2 separate regions of the Homo sapiens genome follow, and region 2 is linked to region 1. Evidence: promoter capture Hi-C in human tissues and cell types (Jung and others, 2019). All regions are on one chromosome and are shown on one strand. Each heading gives the region's core, a stretch centred on a gene start or on the middle of the fragment in contact. The rest is flanking DNA. Distances are from core to core; before and after follow the strand shown.

Region 1 (2,992 bases), core at 1-2,500:
CAGTACCCGTATCTCGGTAGGAAATTAAATATTTCAAACATCAAATAATTCCAATGTAAATGTATGGATCTTTAAATAATTCTGAGCCTTGAAAGGAATGTGGTCATGCAAGCTGAGTCCAGTGGTATGCAGGCGCAACTTCTAAGAGTTTTCCTGGCCAGACGCGGTGGCTAACGCCTGTAATCCCAACACTTTGGGAGTCCGAAGCAGGTGGATCACTTGACGTCAGGAGTTCGAATCCAGCCTGGCCAACGTTGTGAAACCCAGTCTCTACTAAAAATACAAAACTATTAGCCAGGCTTGGTGGCGCGCGTCTGTAATCCCAGCTAGTTGGCAGGCTGAGGCAAGAGAACTACTTTAACCCGGGAGGTGAAGGTTGCAGTGAGCCGAGATCTCGCCACTGCACTCCAGCCTGGGTGACAGAGAAATACTCTGTCTCAAAAAAGAAAAGAAAAGAAAAGAAAAATCTAAATATAAAAATGAAAGTAATAGATCTCTTCCACAAATGTGCTGGGACAACTAACTGGATATCCACGTGAAAATGAATAATGTTGGATCCCTAACTCACAAAATCAAAAATTTTATTTAAAGAAATTTTAAAAAAGGAGAGAGAGAGAGACGAGGAAGGGAGCGCTGCCGGAGGAGGTGTTACTTTGTCGCCCAGGCTAACTTGGACCCCCCCCCCGGCTCAGCGATCCTCCTGCCACTGCTTCCTGAGTAGCTGGGACCTCAGGCTTTCGCCCCGCGCCCGCATCTCTGCTGTGTTTAAGCAGTAGGTGGTGACCTCACTCCTCCCTGGCCTGAGCACTCCGTCCCGCATCCCAGGGGGAGGCCCTAGGGAAATCTCTGAAGCTGAGGACAGGGTGGACTCTCCTTTCCCAGTGAATGGAGAATAGAAAGGGAGAGGATTTCTATTCTGTTCTGTGGGCCGTCAGCATGAAATCGTATGTTCCACCCAGGCAGGGCTTTGCATTTCACATTCTAGTTTGCATCCCCGTTTCAGACAATTCCAGGGCTTTTGAATCATGCCTCAGCCTTCCTGTCCGGTCTCGCCTCCAAAGCTCGAAAACAAGAGGCGCTGGGAGCGAGGTTGAGAGACGCACGGGTCCCACCCCGGCCCCGCCTTCTGCCAATTCTAAAGGGGAAGGTCTCTCCGCTTCGCGCCCCGCCCCTACCTCGCTCAGGCCCCGCCTACCTCCCCGCGGGTCCCGCCCAGGCCTGGCTTCTGTCCTGCGCGCGCAGATTCGCGCAAACCCGGAAGCGGATCGCATGGAGTGATGGTCCCACCGCAGCGGTGAGTTTTGCTCTGTGTTGTGTTAAGTCTGCGCTTCCCAAGTCCCCGGCGCTTCTGTACCTGGGACGTGGGGTCCCCATAGACCTGGAAATTCTCACCCGTGTTCCTTCACCTAGAGCAAATTTAGACGTCCTCGTCAGAGTCCAGGGGTCGCTTCCTTTTGGGTTTAAAGTCGCCCTGAGGATGGTCCCTTCCCGAATCTTTCTGCTATAGGGCAATGTATACACTTCCCATCGCGTAGTTTCCCTGCTCAAAACCTTTTTCTGACTCCTCCCGACCCGCACTTTTTAAAGTCCTTACCGCGAGGCGGATTCCCGCCCTTGGCGCCTCCCAGTCTTGTCTTAAGGCGCCGTCGCCCCCCACCTCCCTCCTCGTTCCAGGCCCTTATGCTCCCCAGGTCTCCCCACCGCAGTCACCGCTTACCCTGAGCCCGCGTTGGGGAGGTGCCCGGGGCTGTCCTATGACACCGGGTGTTCTTGCCTGCCCTGCACCAGCCCCTGGAAAATGCGCTCCTCCGGGATGCAGGCGTCTTACTCCAAAGCCCTCCTGTGATTGTGTTGGCCAAAGGGATCAGGAGACTGAGAGAGAGAGCAGTAGAAAACCTGAGACAGAGAAAAGAAGAATGAGAAAGACCATAACAGATGGCAAAGTAGAGGATGAGTGAGGGATTTGCCAAGAGAGAGCAAAAATGAAAAAAACAAAACAAAACAAAAAACAGCAGGAGGAGCAGATCCCAGGGAAAAAGAAAACAAGAGCTAGAGAGAGAAGGGGAGAATGAGAGATATGTACAGAATTAGGGAGGGAAGCACAGTAATGAAGAAAGGGGGGCTGGGCGCAGTGGCTCACGCCTGTAATCCTAGCACTTTAGGAGACTGGGGCAGAGGGATTGCTTGAGTCCAGGAGTTCAAGACCGGCCTGGGCAAAATAGTGAGACCCCCCCCCCCATCTCTGTCAAAAAAAAAAAAAATTTAACTGGGCGTGATGGTGCACACCTGTAATCCCAGCTGCTCTGGAGGCTGAGGCAGGAGGATCACTTGAGCCCAGGAGGTCCAGGCTGCAGTGAGCAGAGATCATGCCACTGCACTCCAGCCTGGTCAACAGAGCAGAGCCTGTCTCAAAAGATTAAAAGGGGTGGGGGACTTTGGGTTCAGATGAGTGGGTGAGTTCATTGGATATGATTAGTTGTGATATGTTGACTTCTGTTTATATAATCTAATAACTTAGAACTTGTTTAAATTATACAGATGATATTGAGAATTTTAAAATTCCTATCTATAAGACACATACATTCTGTAAATCTTGGCATTAGAGGTCAGCTTCCACTTGGAATCCCTATTCAGCCAGAGGGTAGTGACTTAATTCAATTGTGAGAGCCTCTCTTCCCTCTTCCCATGGTGAGGTAGGAAATGGGGCAGTGAAGTGGGAGAAAAAAATCACTTTCTGTTATTATGTAATAATTTTAATTTAATTAATTAATTTATAGTTTGAGACAGGGTCTGGCTCTGTCGCCCAGGCTGGGGTGCAGTGGTGTGATCTCCTCTAACTGCAGCCTCGACCTCCTAGGCTCAAGCGATCCTCTTACCTCAGCCTCCTGAGTAGCTGGGACCACAGGCGTGAGCCACCAAGTCCGGCTAGGTTTTGTATTTTTTTTTTGTAGAAATGGGGTTTCACTGTTTCCCAGGCTGGTCTCAATTCTGG
Region 2 (2,992 bases), core at 350-2,849, 740 kb before region 1:
GTTCAAGCAATTCTCCTGCCTCAGCCTTCAAGTAGCTGGGATTACAGGCAGGTGCCACCACGCCCAGCTAAGTTTTGTACTTTTAGTAGAGATGGGGTTTCACCATGTTACCCTGGATGGTCTCAAACTCCTCAAGTCAGGTGATCCACCTGCCTTGGCCTCCCAAAGTACTGGGATTCCAGGCCTGAGGCACTGCACCTGGCCATATATTTTTTATATTGTCCATAAAACTGAGACTTCCACAGTGACTTAGGGGATTTTAAAATCTATCAAGGAAAAGTGCAATAAAATGCAACTATACAGAAAAAACTGTTCAAAAATACCTTAATGCGGCTTTGTCAGAACACCGTCTTGGATCAAATCGATACTTATTTTCTCTTTTCTCATTTCATGTGAAGGTGATGACTCACTCCTCCCTAATGTTTTGTTGAAATCTGTCTTTCATTTTAGGGACACTAGACTTTCAGGGATGTGGCTATAGATTTCTCTTTGGAGGAGTGGAAATGCCTGAACCCTGCACAGAGGGCTTTATACAGGGAAGTGATGTTGGAGAACTACAGGAACCTGGAGTTTGTGGGTGAGGAAAATATCCCTCCAGACATGAGGAATCTGCCCTTGTCTATCTTGGCTCTTCCTGGTTTTGTATTCTCTTTTGTGATGTTGCCCCATACATGCTTTTCATGTACATGTCATTGTTTTCTACAGTGATGACCCTCATATTTGTCATGGACAGCTTCTTAGAGACTCCCTTATGGAGTGGTTTTACATAAAACCAGAAAATTCATGAAGAACACTTTGACTAATAAGATTGAACATCATCCTGCTCTAGGCAGAGATGCCCCTGGAGGCCCTGAGCGGAATTGTCACCATGGCCCAGGATATGAGATAGAAAGCATCACACTGACTGACAAGTGTTTCCAGCTGCGCTTGTGGTTTTGTGTTTTTTGTTTCATTTTGTTTTTATGAGACAGAGTGTTGAACAGGTTGGAGTGCAGTGTCGTGATCTCAGCTCATTGCAACCTCCACCTTCTGGGCTCAAGCAATTCACATACCTGAGCCTCCCAACCTAACTGAAATTACAGATGCATGTCACCATACCTGGCTAATTTTGTATTTTTTTTATTTTTATTTTATTTTTATTTTTTTTATTGATCATTCTTGGGTGTTTCTCACAGAGGGGGATTTGGCAGGGTCACAGGACAATAGTGGAGGGAAGGTCAGCAGATAAACAAGTGAACAAAGGTCTCTGGTTTTCCTAGGCAGAGGACCCTGCGGCCTTCCGCAGTGTTTGTGTCCCTGGGTACCTGAGATTAGGGAGTGGTGATGACTCTTAAGGAGCATGCTGCCTTCAAGCATCTGTTTAACAAAGCACATCTTGCACCACCCTTAATCCATTCAACCCTGAGTGGATACAGCACATGTTTCAGAGAGCACAGGGTTGGGGGTAAGGTCACCGATAAACAGGATCCCAAGGCAGAAGAATTTTTCTTAGTACAGAACAAAATGAAAAGTCTCCCATGTCTACCTCTTTCTACACAGACACCACAACCATCCGATTTCTCAATCTTTTCCCCACCTTTCCCCCCTTTCTATTCTACAAAACCGCCATTGTCATCATGGCCCGTTCTCAATGAGCTGTTGGGTACACCTCCCAGACAGGGTGGTGGCTGGGCAGAGGGGCTCCTCACTTCCCAGTAGGCGCGGCCGGGCAGAGGCGCCCCTCACCTCCCGGATGGGGCGGCTGGCCTGGCGGGGGGCTGACCCCCCCACCTCCCTCCCGGAGGGAGCGGCTGGCCGGGCAGAGGGGCTCCTCACTTCCCAGTAGGGGCGGCTGGGTAGAGGCGCCCCTCACCTGCCAGATGGGGTGGCTGGCCGGGCGGGGGGCTGACCCCCCCACCTCCCTCCGGGACGAGGTGGCTGCCGGGAGGAGACGCTCCTCACTTCCCAGACGGGGTGGCTGCTGGGCGGAGGGGCTTCTCACTTCTCAGACGGGGCGGCTGCCGGGCGGAGGGGCTTCTCACTTATCAGACGGGGTGGCTGCCAGGCAGAGGGTCTCCTCACTTCTCAGACGGGGCGGCCGGGCAGAGACGCTCCTCACATCCCAGACGGGGTGGCAGGGCAGAGGTGCTCCCCACATCTCAGACGATGGGCGGCCGGGCAGAGACGCTCCTCACTTTCCAGACTGGACAGCCAGGCAGAGGGGCTCCTCACATCCCAGACGATGGGCGGCCAGGCAGAGACGCTCCTCACTTCCCAGATGGGGTGGTGGCCGGGCAGAGGCTGCAATCTCGGCACTTTGGGAGGCCAAGGCAGGCGGCTGGGAGGTGGAGGTTGTAGCGAGCCGAGATCACGCCACTGCACTCCAGCCTGGGCACCATTGAGCACTGAGTGAACGAGACTCCGTCTGCAATCCCGGCACCTTGGGAGGCCGAGGCTGGCGGATCACTCCCGGTTAGGAGCTGGAGACCAGCCCGGCCAACACAGCGAATCCCCGTCTCCACCAAAAAAATACGAAAACCAGTCAGGCGTGGCGGCGCGCGCCTGCAATCACAGGCACTCAGCAGGCTGAGGCAGGAGAATCAGGCAGGGAGGTTGCAGTGAGCCAAGATGGCAGCAGTACCGTCCAGCTTCGGCTCGGCATCAGAGGGAGACCCTGGAAAGAGAGGGAGAGGGAGACCATGGGGAGAGGGAGAGGGAGAGGGGACTAATTTTGTATTTTTATTAGAGATGGGATATGACCATGTTGGCCAGGCTGGTCTTGAACTCCTGGTCTCAAGCAATCCGCCTGCCTCAGCCTCCATCCAGGTGTTGGGATTATAGGCATGAGCCACCGCACCTGGCCTTTTGTTCTGTTTTTTTTGTTTTTTGTTTTTTGTTTTGAGACAGAGTTTCACTCTTGTTGCCCAGGCTGGAGTGCAATGGTGCGATCTCGGCTCACTGCAACCCCCACCTCCCAGGTTCAAGCGATTCTCCTGCTTCAACCTGCCTAGCA

The links. Contacts are between HindIII fragments. The study calls those that stand out against the background at their distance.
Region 2: a contact is called between a fragment that was not itself captured here and the fragment with the promoter of ZNF845 in region 1, in 6 of the 25 tissues and cell types used here (adrenal gland, liver, ovary and 3 more).

What each region holds. Positions count from the first base shown.
Region 1 is chr19:53,332,499-53,335,490 of GRCh38, forward strand. ZNF845 (zinc finger protein 845) reads left to right here and starts at 1,251. Exons shown (of 4, transcript NM_138374.3): 1 at 1,251-1,294. RefSeq lists enhancers at 367-1,231, 1,330-1,379, 1,650-1,739 and a silencer at 1,040-1,259. The HindIII fragment of the contact is 26,552 bases long and covers 1-2,992 here.
Region 2 is chr19:52,591,652-52,594,643 of GRCh38, forward strand. It overlaps a transcript of ZNF701 not described here. Among named protein-coding and RNA genes, the nearest start is that of ZNF701, 23 kb to the left of the region's middle. The HindIII fragment of the contact is 6,608 bases long and covers 1-2,992 here.